5 separate regions of the Homo sapiens genome follow, and all the other regions are linked to region 4. The links are contacts of gene promoters, found by promoter capture Hi-C in blood cells and fetal thymus (Javierre and others, 2016). All regions are on one chromosome and are shown on one strand. Each heading gives the region's core, a stretch centred on a gene start or on the middle of the fragment in contact. The rest is flanking DNA. Distances are from core to core; before and after follow the strand shown.

What was found. Contacts are between HindIII fragments. The CHiCAGO score rates a contact against its expected background, and 5 or more counts as called.
Region 1: a fragment that was not itself captured here is called in contact with the fragment with the promoter of ADAMTS15 in region 4 in 1 of 17 cell types (endothelial precursors); the score reaches 6.5 in endothelial precursors.
Region 2: a fragment that was not itself captured here is called in contact with the fragment with the promoter of ADAMTS15 in region 4 in 4 of 17 cell types (total B cells, naive CD8 T cells, total CD4 T cells and 1 more); the score reaches 9.8 in total B cells.
Region 3: a fragment that was not itself captured here is called in contact with the fragment with the promoter of ADAMTS15 in region 4 in 15 of 17 cell types (naive B cells, total B cells, fetal thymus and 12 more); the score reaches 13.4 in naive B cells.
Region 5: a fragment that was not itself captured here is called in contact with the fragment with the promoter of ADAMTS15 in region 4 in 1 of 17 cell types (endothelial precursors); the score reaches 5.2 in endothelial precursors.

Annotation. Positions count from the first base shown.
Region 1 is chr11:130,768,431-130,771,130 of GRCh38, forward strand. No RefSeq gene overlaps it. Among named protein-coding and RNA genes, the nearest start is that of LINC02551, 92 kb to the right of the region's middle. The HindIII fragment of the contact is 4,264 bases long and covers 1-2,700 here.
Region 2 is chr11:130,948,677-130,951,376 of GRCh38, forward strand. No RefSeq gene overlaps it. Among named protein-coding and RNA genes, the nearest start is that of SNX19, 34 kb to the left of the region's middle. The HindIII fragment of the contact is 221 bases long and covers 1,152-1,372 here.
Region 3 is chr11:130,881,423-130,884,122 of GRCh38, forward strand. The region is part of intron 8 of SNX19 (sorting nexin 19); the gene reads right to left. Among named protein-coding and RNA genes, the nearest start is that of LINC02551, 21 kb to the left of the region's middle. The HindIII fragment of the contact is 3,697 bases long and covers 1-2,700 here.
Region 4 is chr11:130,447,266-130,449,965 of GRCh38, forward strand. It overlaps ADAMTS15 (ADAM metallopeptidase with thrombospondin type 1 motif 15), which reads left to right and starts at 1,380. Exons shown (of 8, transcript NM_139055.4): 1 at 1,380-2,665. The coding sequence starts at 1,709. The HindIII fragment of the contact is 10,038 bases long and covers 1-2,700 here.
Region 5 is chr11:130,814,084-130,816,783 of GRCh38, forward strand. No RefSeq gene overlaps it. Among named protein-coding and RNA genes, the nearest start is that of LINC02551, 47 kb to the right of the region's middle. The HindIII fragment of the contact is 7,529 bases long and covers 1-2,700 here.

The DNA of each region.
Region 1 (2,700 bases), core at 51-2,550, 320 kb after region 4:
CTCTATGTTCTCCATAAAACAGTTCCTGGAATATCCTACATATTTCCTGCCTACTGCGACTGCTTGTCCCGGAACTCTCAGAGCATGTCCACACATAGGAGGCAGGAAAAACCATCAGATACCACGGTACATGTCCTTAACCAGTTTCACTCCAAGGTTGGGCTTGTAAAAGTTAAGTAATTTTGACCAGTAACTTGAAATTCAAAGCATTTTTATAGCAAAACATTCTATAGAGTAGAATCAAACATTTACATACATTTAAAAAATAAAACAGTCTCGAAGTAGGATGTATCCCCAGACACCAAGGATACCCGTGTGCCCACGTGCTCACTGAGAAGTTCTTGACTGTGATGTTTATTAACACATGTTTCCAGCAGTTGTGTAGGACTTAGAGTGAAGAATAAGGAGAGTCCCTGAGCCCCGCCTAATAGGAGCTGCCAATGTCACAGACAGCTTATGTCTGTCTTATAGGGAACACCTAAATCAAGGCTATTCTATGGGCATCTGTATGAATTTGCTCTGCTACCATAACAAAATACCGCAGACCAGGTGGCCTAAGGAACAGAAATTTATTTCCTTAGAGTTCTGGAGGCTGGAGGTCGAAGACGAGAGTGCTGGCAGGGCTGGTTTCCTCTGAGGCCCTCTGGCTTACAGACGGCCACCTCCTTCAGTGTCTGCATGCGGCCTTCCCTCTGTGCCTGTATCCTGGTGTCTCTTCACGTGTCAAAGTTTCCTCTTTTTATGAGGACACCAGCCGGAATGGATCAGGGCCCAAACCAACGGCCACATTTTAACTTCATTTCCTCTTTAAAGGCCCTGTCTCCAAGTATAGTCACATTCTGGGGTGCTGGGGGTTAGGAATCAAATACACGAATTCTGGGGAACACGATTCAGCTCTAACAGCATCTAAGACAGCTTCACCATTCCTCAAGTGTGCTCTGAAGGAAAAGCAGAAGCCCGCTGTTCACATAGCAGGGTCAGGGTGAGGGTGAGAGTGAAGAGGGGGTTGCAGTGGAGAAGGAGCCGTTCCTGACAGCAGGAGCAGTGCTTTTGTGAGGTGCAAGACCATCATGTGTGGGAGGAAGCTCAAAACTCCGCGTGCTCCTGGAGCCCATTGGGAGGGAGAGGTGGAAAGTTGCAGGAGGTGAAACAGGAGCCATGGCCAAGATCACACCCGGCAGGGCACTGAGCACCGAGCTGGGAGCTGAGAGTGCGTCCTGTGGACTTTCAAGAAGACAGTGCTGCGGTCAGACCTGCATGCTGGAAAGGTGATCCTGGAGACACGGTGAAGCAGGTGTCAGAAAGAGCAAGGCTGGGGACAGGGAGACCTCTTAGATAACGGACAGAAGCCCAAAAATGGATGAGGCTCAGTAGTTCAACTGAAAACATTGTCCTTCAGATCTAAAGTAGTCTCCTTCCAGGGTAAGCGATCCCCACTTCCTTCCTGCACAAAGAGAATCATACTAGCGAATATTTCTCACAAACTTAGCGTGTGCCAGGCCATGATCTAAGTCCTTTACCTGTATGAACTTGTTTATTCTTCTCTGTGATTACTGCCCCATTTACAGATAAAATCAAGGAACATGAGATTAAATGGCCTCTCTAAGGTCATAAAATTAATGAGGGGAAAGCCAGGGCGTAACTCAGGTAGTCTGGCTCTATAGGCCACACGCAATCACTGTGCTGCACTGTCCCTACTAAGCAAATGAGAACCATCTTCCACATACCTGCTCAGCCAGAAGCTGTTGCCATCTTTCCACATTGCCCATCTCCGGGAAATGCAGCTTATTCCCAAGGAACTCTGAGGTTTTGTAATGGATGTCATTAGATAGACTGAGCAACCTGGTTGCAGTCCTCCTCCCACTCACATTCCACTTTCCCTGGAATAAGCTCATCGTCAGTTGCTGTGTATTGGATGCCCTCAGTGTGCTGAGCTCTAGAGGTGAGGGGTAAATAAGCTGTTTGTTTTCTGTCTTAAGAAGCTCACAGTCTAGATGGTGGAGTGCATAGAGAGGCCAGCGACCCCTGCAGAGGGATGAGAAGCAAGTCTGGAATCCTCTGTAGTAGAAAGCTGTATTCAGGGGAATGGTGTTTGGGGGTAAGAAAGGAAAGTCCTTTCTTTTTTAAAGGGATTTCCATCACATGCTCTCAAGACAGCATTACAGGGAGATCACACCCAAAGTGAGGGTGCAATCCTCATAGAACTCATTGCTGGGAAGATGTGGCCAGTGATGAGTTCCGTGAGGACTGAATCCTCACATGGATAAGGCACACGGAAATGTCTAAGGAATATGGCCACATGACAGAGGAGAGAGGACTTCATTCATTCATTCATTCATTCATTCCACAAGCATTATTGATGACTTACTGTGTGCCAGGCAGTGTACTAAGCAGTGCATGAATATCAAATTGAACCATGCTCCAATAATTCACTCCCAGACCCCTGCAGTGGAGACGCCTGTTGTCACCAAATATCAGAGAATTCTTCATTTGTTTCTGACCCTTAGTACCTGCTCAGAAGACAGAGACCTTTTAACAGAATTGGGTTTCATGTTTCTCCCCACGCTGCCAGTGAGCCTTCTTATGTCATAAGAAACAAACTCTCGAGCCGTCCACAGGGAATAGGGGTGGCACTAACATGCTGCCTTGTTACTGACGTTTGAACAGCATTGAGAGGCAAGCAAATCAATGACTTCCTCC
Region 2 (2,700 bases), core at 12-2,511, 500 kb after region 4:
TTTAGCCCTCTTGGTCCCGCTTGTTCCTCCCTAATTTTACCTGAAGGGAATTAAAGAACACAAGCATACTAGAAAAAAAGATGATTCTTTTATTCCTTTGTAGTATTTGGAAAACAGCTTTAAACATGTATAGGTATACTAAAGCTGGAAGAGGTCTTGTGAATTTATTATTTCCTAACTTTAGGCAGAAACTCACTGAAACCATTGCCAGGAACACCCAGTTCTCAGAAAATATTCTTTAGAAATTTCAGTAATATGCAATTTTGAGGGAGGACTTTTAGTGTGGTGGTTAAGAGCACAAACTCTGGAGCAGGTTCTCAAGATTCAATTCCAGGGCCACGATTTGCAAACTGTGTGCCTTCAGACAGGCCAGCGAAACTTTCTGTGCTTCAGTTTCCTCATATGGGAACACTGACAGCGTTTACTTCCTAGGATTGTTATAAGGGCTAACCCAAGTTAATAGATGTAAAATATTTTATGTTTACCTGCATGATAGAGTTTGATACACAGTAAGTGCTGCATAATATATACATGTTTGTTATTTTTAATGAGAAGCTCAACATTTGGGCTTTTACTGGGCAACATTTTTCAGGCCTTTGGGACTTTTGACATGTATAAATTCTCCCTTGGTAGGGAGGAAATGGGACAGGAAATGATGGGAGGAACCTTTGGTGAAGAAGGCAAAATACTACTGAACCTTGAGGTTTTGTGTTCAGCCCCAGGACAGACATTGAAGATGGAAGGCTCGGGCTGATGTCAACAGGTTTCCCAGGGGTCTCCATCCCCTCCAGCATTCATGCAAAGCCAATTCCAGCTACAGACTGCAGCTTGGGGTTGTCTTCTGCAGCTGTCTACAACAGGGACTTGTCAGGGGTAAAATGAAAAATTTTATCATGATTTCTAATTTTTCTCGATGTCTCAGTCATTGAAAGTTTCACATTCAGGGCCATTTGGGTGTCATGAAAACATCAGGTTTAAAGAGGAAAGATGATGGATCGTGAATGTTTATGAGGAGATGGTAGCAATTATAATGATGGTAATGAAGAGTGAAGCGAGAAGATCAGCCTGTGGGGATGCTGCTCCTGAGTCTAGGCTGCTGGAGGAAAGTGCTCCAGTGGGCTTGGGCATTACCATTGTACCAAGATGGATGAAGCTTCTTTTCCAACAGCCCCTCCAGATTCATTATTTTTTTAGAAATATGCCTTGTGGAACCAGGTTTGCAAGTTTTACATTGAGTGAACAGCTATTTCTTATGTTAAGTTATTTTAGCTGAAGAATAGAGAATTGTTGAAATAAATGGCTAGAGAATTCGAATTGTATTCATTCTTGACATTGGAACTGACAAATAGCTTCATTCCCCACTGAAATGGAAAGCTTATTACTCTGAGATACAGGCGGGTTTGAGGGAGGGGGGCATCTGAGTTTTATTTTACTGTAACTCTTGTAGATGCTGTGATACAATGAAATAAAATGCTTTTCTGAAATCCTTCTGGAATCCATCCCTGCCCCATTCTCCATATTTGACTGGGAATAAAACCAATTAAAACAGATTAATTTATAGCCAGTATAAAATCCACTCTGACAGCTGGTTATTACGGCCTAAGCATGGAGTTCTCAGGTAGAGCAGGGCTGGTCGGTGGTGGAGGATGCATGAGAACTGATCATCCTGATGGGTTGAGCTGAGGCACCTTCCAACTGAGCCCTGCCCACCAGGGACTGGGCATCTCCAAAGAGGAACCATCCATGCTGGGACGGACTCATGGGATCTGGAGGATGCTTTCACCAGAGCCCTGGAAACTGTTCATATGAAAATTGCAGATTTCTCCTTGACATCCTTGGTACTGGATGCCTCTCATCCCCCTGCCAGCATGATTCACTGCAAGGAGAGATGCATTGAGCGTGGCAGCCAATGAAGCTGTGAACATAGCAAGGCACATGGGAGCTGCAGGCTTGTGGGGTTGCTGGGCTGGACTCACCCGACCACTCCTGTTGCAAAGTCAGCCTGAACCTTCTGATGTTGTCTTCGGAGGAAGTGGGATGCAGCTGCTCGTCTTCTATACACCATCCCTTCCTGCTTGTATAGTCCTTGATCTTCCCACCATCTCACCTTGTCTTCTCTAACCTGTCAGAGGCCTGCGCATCTAACAGACTTCATGAATGATAACTTGCCATCCCACGAAGTCTGCTGACTTCATACTGATGACTGATTTATAAAGTCCTGATGAAAGTGTCCGCTGAGCACTTGCATTGTCCATGTGGAAATCACGGGATTCTTCTTCATGTTTCTTTAATATCATTTGCCTTTCATTACCTGATTTCTGGCAGGAATCCTCAATATAGAATGTGTGGTGGTCAGCACAGCCTTATGTGTGACAGTTGTAGGTATTTGGCCACTTTCAAATTATGCACTATGAGAGCTGGTCTTGAGGTTGAGGAAGAGAGAGAGAACTTGGGGCCCAAAATCTAAGTTGGAGCTGGAATTTGGCCCTGACCAGGCCAGCACAACATAGCTTAGGGATTCTGGAGCCCCCCTCTTCCAGAAGACTTGAGAGAAGTCTTTTGCAGGCTTGGGATTCCAAAAACAACACTATCAGAGGATTGTGGGTGTGCCCATTTTGCCTAACAAAAGCTGTTTCTTAGGTCAGCTCACCTTAGTCCCTTAATTGCTTTAGAAGTAGAAGCAGTGCTGGTTTCTTTCTG
Region 3 (2,700 bases), core at 4-2,503, 430 kb after region 4:
TGAGCCTGCACCTATACCTTCCCAACTCTCCTCTGGCAAGGCTGCACCTATTATCTTTCTAGCTCTCCTCTGATGGGAAGCATTATAACCTTCTTGGTAACATGTACACACAGACTTCACAGCTACGGACTTAGCGATCTTTAAACAAATTCCTCTCTCTACCTCCCCAGCCATATCTTCTGGTCCTCATGACTGTCTTAGGGATTTCCTACATCTGCCCTTTGTTCATAATAGTTCTCTCACTAACAAGGGCCTCTTCTCGCCTTGCCTGAAGAGCAAGTCTCAAGTCTGCCCTTCTGGCAAGACCTGTTTCAACCCTACTTCCTCCATGAAATCCTTGACCATCACAGCTGGAAGTGCTCTCCTTCTCCATAGACCTCCTTTGGCAGGTAGCTCTGGAACAATTACTTTGGAATATGCATCTTTTTAAAGGTGTTTATAGCTTTACTTCTTCAACTAAATTATAAGCTGTAAGAGTTCTGTGTCTTGTACTTTAAAAAAACTCCCCGCCGTGCTTGGTGCTCAAGAAATGGTTGACTGACTGATAACTGTTCTTATTTCAATGAAAAATTTTCCCTTTGTCTTACTTTCGAAAATGAGTCAAAATTTTCCCTTTATCTTACTTTCAAAAATGAGTCAAAAATGAGGGGGAAGATATACCAAATCTGGAGTTCAGCTGGAAACCTAGAAAGTGGTTCAACGTTATTCTTGATCTGTTCCTGAATTTTTTTCAAAGTGATATGGTCAGAAGTGAGGTTCAAGGCTGTTGAGGCCTCCCCTTCACCCACCTCATTTAAGACTGACATAGCTGTGTGGGTCATGGATGGACAATCAACCACTTCTATTCATGCACGGAAGACTCGTTTGATCCTGCACCACATGGCAGCTCATGCCATCACTCCTCGCTCCTATACTCGAGTCACTTGTCACTCATCCAAGAGCAGAGGGGGCTGCCAAGGCAAACTTTATTTAACCTCCACTCTGCCAGACAGTCTGCATTCCACTCAAGCTGGGCATTCCAGCCATGAGGGCTGCAATCCCCCAAGCCCAAGGCTCACAACTGATTCTAAGAATAGGAAGTGTGTAAGGTAATAGCAGGGCAAGAATGGCAGCCATCGATGGAGATCAAGAGTGGCACAAAGCTGTTCTTGTCCAAAATAGCCAACACGATCGTATTTGTTATTATTAGGGCCGCATCTCCTTTTTATAGGGCTTTTCATTCAGTGAGCCTAAGATGCCTGATGAAAGGAATCCAGTAGCAAGAATTCCTGTTCCTGTTTATGTAAGAGGGTCACTAGAGGGAGGTGGCTGCAATGACCTGATCGGCTTCTCTGCAGGGGATTAAGTGACCCAAGGTCTCCTTTCTTCACCTCAAGCCATGTATACTTCTGCAATTTTTGCTGAGGAGAATGATGTGTCTTAGGGTCTCATCTAACTGTCTTGAGGGAGAGGGGCAAAGTCTTGCAAACTAAAATCTTTAGCCACATGATCCTTCCTAGACTGAACATGTTGTAACATGCCAGCAAGCCTAGGTACCTCAGCCATCTTCTGGCATGTCTTACAAAGCAAGAGTTACATTCTTTTGAATGAACATTAATTTATCTGATGGGGACAGGACCTCACATGGCATTAGGACAAGGATATCCTCCTTGTTCTCTTGCATGGTGATTAAGTGTCTCATGTACATGTGTGGGATGCAAAATGAATTTTATCATGTGGCAAAATATAAATTTATAAACTTATACAAATCTATAAGACAGCTTTTCAGACTCTAAATGGAAATGTTGGGGAGAGACATAAAAGTAGGAAAAGTAAAAATAAGCACCTGATGATGAAGATGAGTCTATGAGTCAAATAAATTTGTGGAAGCTAATAAGCACAACTCACCGAAGAAAAGGAGTGCCATCTCTGAGTAAGTATCAGCTGCTGATGAGACAAAGACACTGTCAAGCACTGTACATACAAGGCACAGAACTGGCCAACAGGAGGCCCTGGAAAAAGTCAGGCCCAGGAATATAAGAAACAGGACTTTCACAAACTGGCAGAAATAAACTCCCTCCAGGCCTACAAAGAGGGACAGAGTTTGGAAAGTGACTTCTAGTCCCTGGGAGCTGCAGAGTGCCAGCTTTCCTTATTCTTCTCCACACTCTGAAGATAAAAGACACAAACCACACACTTGCACCACGCATGGTTTAAACATTTGCTCTCTTTCCTGGATTCTCCTCTTGCCTACGTTCTGCCCACCCTTCCCCCTGTCAGCAAACAGAGGCTTTATCCTAGGCCTTTGGGCTCAGCATGGTCTTATTTCCTAGTCCCAGGCAGCCTGTGTAGAAGACCAAGTGCAACAAATCTTTCTTGTTCACAGAACTTCTGAGCGATGGTGTCTCGTTAAAAATGATGAGCACGCCAATCTGGAAGGAAAACATGATAAAGAGCAAACCAAAAAAATCACCACCACAACTGCCACTGCCCTCACACAATACAATCTCTAAATTTTTTAAGCTGTAATTCAATTTCTAAGACACACTTTATTATCACTCACTATGCCTTTCTTAAGTTGTAAATGGCTGTATATTCAGGGATTTGGTATACTTTGCCTTGCCCAACACCTGGATGGAACCAACTGCCACTGGTTCTTGAGAGCAATGAAGAAGGTGGAGATTTCTTCATCCAAATATCTTTCCTCTCCCTTTCATCCCT
Region 4 (2,700 bases), core at 130-2,629:
TGGCGGTTCTGGTGGCTCAAGACCATAAGTAATTATCAAATACTTAGGAAGCGACGGGTTTTGAGTATTTATTACCTTTTAAAAATGTACTTTGTGGCTAGGCATGGTGGCTCACGCCTGTAGTCCCCGCACCGGGAGGCCGAGGTGGGTGGATTGCTTGAGCTCAGGAGTTCAAGACCAGCCTGGGCAACACGGCGAAACCCAGTCTCTACCAAAAATACACACACACACACACACACACACACACACACACACACACACACACAAATTGGCCTAGCGTGGTGTCGTGTGTCTGTGGTCGCAGTTACTCAGGAGACCAAGGTAGGAGGTAGGAAACCAAGGTAGGAGGATCACCCGAGGTCGGTAGTTCGAGACCAGCCTGACCAACATGGAGAAACCCTGTCTTTACTAAAAATACAAAATTAGCTGGGCGTGGTGGTGCATGCCTGTAATTCCAGCTACTTGGGAGGCTGAGACAGGAGAATGGCTTGAACCCGGAAGGCGGAGTTTGCGGTGAGCTGAGATCGCGTCATTGCACTCCAGCCTGGGCAACAAGAGCAAAACTCCGTCTCAAAAAAAAAAAAATATATATATATATGTGTGTGTGTGTGTGTGTGTGTGTATGTATATATATATATGTATGTGTATATATATGTATGTGTGTGTGTGTGCATATATATATATACACTTTGTTTAATTGTAAGTGTGTTTAGTTTAATTTTTAATAATGTCCGTGATTAACAGCTGGCTGGCAAGATTCCTGAGAACTGAAGAGTTTGCCCCAGCCCATCCAGCACACCATGGGCCCAGGGCAGACCTTGGGGCTAGGCGGTCTTGGGTTCCAGAGGGCTCCCATGCCCCTGTCCTATTGCTCTTCTGGCAATAGGACATTTACGCGGGGGGGGGGGTGGTTCTTGATTCTGGGTCTTTTAGGGGACTCTGTGATTAAGAAACAGCAGGGATGTTGCAACAGCAGGGATGAGGTGGGCCTGGGGACGGGTCAGTGAAGGGTCTTCATTCCTAGCTGCTGACCTGATCTGCCCTGAGATAAAAGACTAAGACCCAGAGAGTGAACGCTGTCCGCGGGGGCAGAAGCGAGTGAGGCGTCGGGACAGTGGGGCATAACCAAGAGCAAAACGCAAACTGAGACTTCAGCGCCGGTTTCTCGGGCCAGCCCACGCCTCCTGCCTCAGCTCAATGCCACTCCCTCCCCGCCAAGTGGCTCTCCGCTCTGGAGGCGGGACCGAGTTCTCCGGTGGCCCCTGGAGGCTCCGGCAGCGAGCTCTGGGAGGCTGGGAGGGGAGTGAGGGGAGGGGCGCTGACTGGGCCGTCCAAAGAGGAGGGGGCCTTTAATAGGCTCGCCCAGCGCCTGGCTTGCTGCGCTGCGAGTGGCTGCGGTTGCGAGAAGCCGCCCGGCACCTTCCGCTAGTTCTCGGCTGCAAATCTTCGTCCTTGCACTTGACAGCGATTGTACTTAAGCTCCCAGGGCGCGCTTTGCTTGGAAAGGCACAGGTAGGAAGCGCGGGCTGCCGGGTGCACGCTCGCCGCCCTGGGAGGAGTCTCCCTCCCTTGGCTCTCCTTTCTGGGAACTGCCGGCTGTCCCGTAGCGTTGGCGGTTCCAGAGTGCGGGCTGCACGGAGACCGCGGCAGCGGCCGGAGAGCCCGGCCCAGCCCCTTCCCACAGCGCGGCGGTGCGCTGCCCGGCGCCATGCTTCTGCTGGGCATCCTAACCCTGGCTTTCGCCGGGCGAACCGCTGGAGGCTCTGAGCCAGAGCGGGAGGTAGTCGTTCCCATCCGACTGGACCCGGACATTAACGGCCGCCGCTACTACTGGCGGGGTCCCGAGGACTCCGGGGATCAGGGACTCATTTTTCAGATCACAGCATTTCAGGAGGACTTTTACCTACACCTGACGCCGGATGCTCAGTTCTTGGCTCCCGCCTTCTCCACTGAGCATCTGGGCGTCCCCCTCCAGGGGCTCACCGGGGGCTCTTCAGACCTGCGACGCTGCTTCTATTCTGGGGACGTGAACGCCGAGCCGGACTCGTTCGCTGCTGTGAGCCTGTGCGGGGGGCTCCGCGGAGCCTTTGGCTACCGAGGCGCCGAGTATGTCATTAGCCCGCTGCCCAATGCTAGCGCGCCGGCGGCGCAGCGCAACAGCCAGGGCGCACACCTTCTCCAGCGCCGGGGTGTTCCGGGCGGGCCTTCCGGAGACCCCACCTCTCGCTGCGGGGTGGCCTCGGGCTGGAACCCCGCCATCCTACGGGCCCTGGACCCTTACAAGCCGCGGCGGGCGGGCTTCGGGGAGAGTCGTAGCCGGCGCAGGTCTGGGCGCGCCAAGCGTTTCGTGTCTATCCCGCGGTACGTGGAGACGCTGGTGGTCGCGGACGAGTCAATGGTCAAGTTCCACGGCGCGGACCTGGAACATTATCTGCTGACGCTGCTGGCAACGGCGGCGCGACTCTACCGCCATCCCAGCATCCTCAACCCCATCAACATCGTTGTGGTCAAGGTGCTGCTTCTTAGAGATCGTGACTCCGGGCCCAAGGTCACCGGCAATGCGGCCCTGACGCTGCGCAACTTCTGTGCCTGGCAGAAGAAGCTGAACAAAGTGAGTGACAAGCACCCCGAGTACTGGGACACTGCCATCCTCTTCACCAGGCAGGTGAGTTGATCTGCCGTCACTTTGCACCCAGATAG
Region 5 (2,700 bases), core at 120-2,619, 370 kb after region 4:
TCCTCTCCTACCTTTGGACATCAGAACTCCAGTTCTGTAGCCTCTGGATTCCAGAATTGCATTAGCAGCCATTTGTGTCCTCAGGCCTTCAACCTGAGAGTAATAACATTCGCTTCCCTGGTTCTGAGGCCTTGGACTTGGACTAAACCATGCCACAGGACTCCCTGGTTCTCCAGCATGCAGACAGCTTATGGTAGGACTTCTCAGCCTATATAATCATAAAAGCCAGTCCCCTGATAAATCATCTATCTATTTATCTGTCTATCTATCTATCTATCTATCTATCTATCTATCTATCTATCTATCTATCTATCATCTAGCTATCTGATTTATCTGTCTGTCTACCTAATCTATGTATCCTATTGGCACCCTACTCTCTCTGGCCTCTTGGGTTGTAAGTCACATCTCTTAACATCTGAAAATCTTGGTGGAGTAGATTTTCTGCATTGGATAAGAAAATGAGGCTAGTAAAGCCCCTTAATGAGATTTATCAGATGCGGTTAGAGGGAGAGTGGTTAGAAACCATACCACTTAAAGCTGCCCAGTTAGCTGAGTCTATCCTGCAGAATCAGGGTGGGCTCAGCGCCAAGGAAGGCAGAGGGAAAGAAGTAAGGAAGACTAAGTGATAAGGTTATATAAATAAAAATAGAAGGGAAAACATTGCCTTATCCAAAAAGAACACATTTACATTTTGATTTCATGTAATATACCTCCTGATCCACAAAGAGAATTCCCTAACCTCCCCATGCTATGTGATACCAGGCAAGGCTAATCCCTGAGCCCTGGTCAGAACAGCACTCAGAAAAACATCTGTATGGATTTGCTGGCTTTCCTTAACAGGAGGGGCGGCTCAACCCCTTCAGGGCCTTGTGAAGCTAAATTGCTATCAGGCTGTGCGGGGAAATGCAAGAAGGTTCTTCCTCTGTTACAAATGGGCTCTGTTCTTCCAGACTAGGGCTGCAGAGTATTGGCTGAGGATAAGAGCAGCTCAGGTTAGGAGTGAGGACTTCAGTGCAGAAGATCTTAAACTGGACTCTGCTCTAGAGAGAGAATCCATGAAGCACCAAGGACCTGTCCCACTCTTGGATGCCCCCACAGGAAAGTGGCCTGGGCAGTTTTTTTTGCTGACAGTGGATATGCGGGGAAGAGAGTCAGTGAGGCCAACCCTATTGTCTGGGTCATAGTTGGGTCAAGAAACAAATTTTGCTCAACAGGAACAACAAGGAAGTAATGACATAAACCAATCAAATTCTCTCTCGGGGAGGGAGAATGTGTGATGTGCCTAGAAAGGAGGGCCCATCAGGCTTAGACTCTGCCGGAAACTTCAATGGGTCCTTTTTCCAGCTCCCAGTGCAGTGTGCAGCATGTCCCCGGCGTGGGAAGGCTGAATCCTAGTGGGCTGTCCAGATGCTCGGAGGCTTTCTCAGCTGCTCCAGTGCCCCATGTATCTGGACAATGACCCTCGGCCCCAGAGCTAATCTGGGCATGGAGCGTTCTTGCGATTCCAAGTCCACTAATAGGATTGTAAAAAATTTTCCACTGTGAGGTGATGATTAGCTACTGTTGCTTCTCATGATCACCCTCCCTCCTCCATGCATATATGCCTAGCTTGTTAATGATCTATAAGTCTTCTAAAATGACATCTTAGCTCAAGCATCTTAAAAGTTTTCTGAAATCTAATGACTATAAGGGACTAGAGCAGAGTCTCTGCAGAACATTTGAGGTCATCCTCTCCAATCAGTGGCATTTTTCAGAGGACCTGCGCCTTCCTTACATGGACCCCCGAAGCTGTAGGTACCTGGCCCTGAGTGAGGGGCAGAGCAAGTTTCTCCCTGAGCCTTACATCACCCACCCGCCCCCCGCCCCATGGCAGTGAGCAGGAGGGTGTGACATTCTGAGGGCATAGGTGCTTGTCATCTTGACCTAAGTTTGCCTTGATATGACTTAGCTACACGTGCTTTGGAAAAAAACAAAAACAAAAACAAGCCAACCTGGTGAGAAAGCCTGAGATGGGATTGCTTCTCGGCCTTTTGGATAAGTCAGGCGGAGAAAGCCCGTGGTGGGAACTGGAGCAATTCACTCTGGGGACTTGTCTGGTGAGGTCTGTTGCTGGCTCCTGTGCGGGTGGACCCTGGAGCGCTGCTCCCTGCCTGCTTAATCCTACTTCCATCACTGAGGAAAACAAACATTTTGGCCATATTTACGCAGCATTTGAATCACATTTTAAGTCATAATGCCAGGTCATATGACTAGAAGACTAGTGATAGCAAAGAAAGAAGCACAAAGAGTAGATTACAGGTGTGGCCATGAGATGGGCTCCTGAAGGTCATTTCATCCACCCCCATGTTTCTACCTGTCCTAAGATTTCCAGAAAGAGGGAAGGACTGGAAGGAGGCACATTGTTTTTAAGTGTCAATTTTTTAAACGGAGAATCTAATTTTCTGGAAGTATTATTGGTTAGACTTTAAAGGAAGGATTTATGTTCCTATGAATTGTGTAGAAAGGAATTTTAATAACAGAGAGGCAGTGTGAGGCAACATGGGCTGAGATCGTAATTCAGGGACGAAAAGACTTTCCAGGAGGGATTAGCAGGCACTGCAAACTCCGTTACCAGAAAGCACTTCTATGTACTGGAGTTCTGCAGTGAATACACTTACAGGCATTTATTCACACAGTTAATAAATAACCCATCGCTTGCCC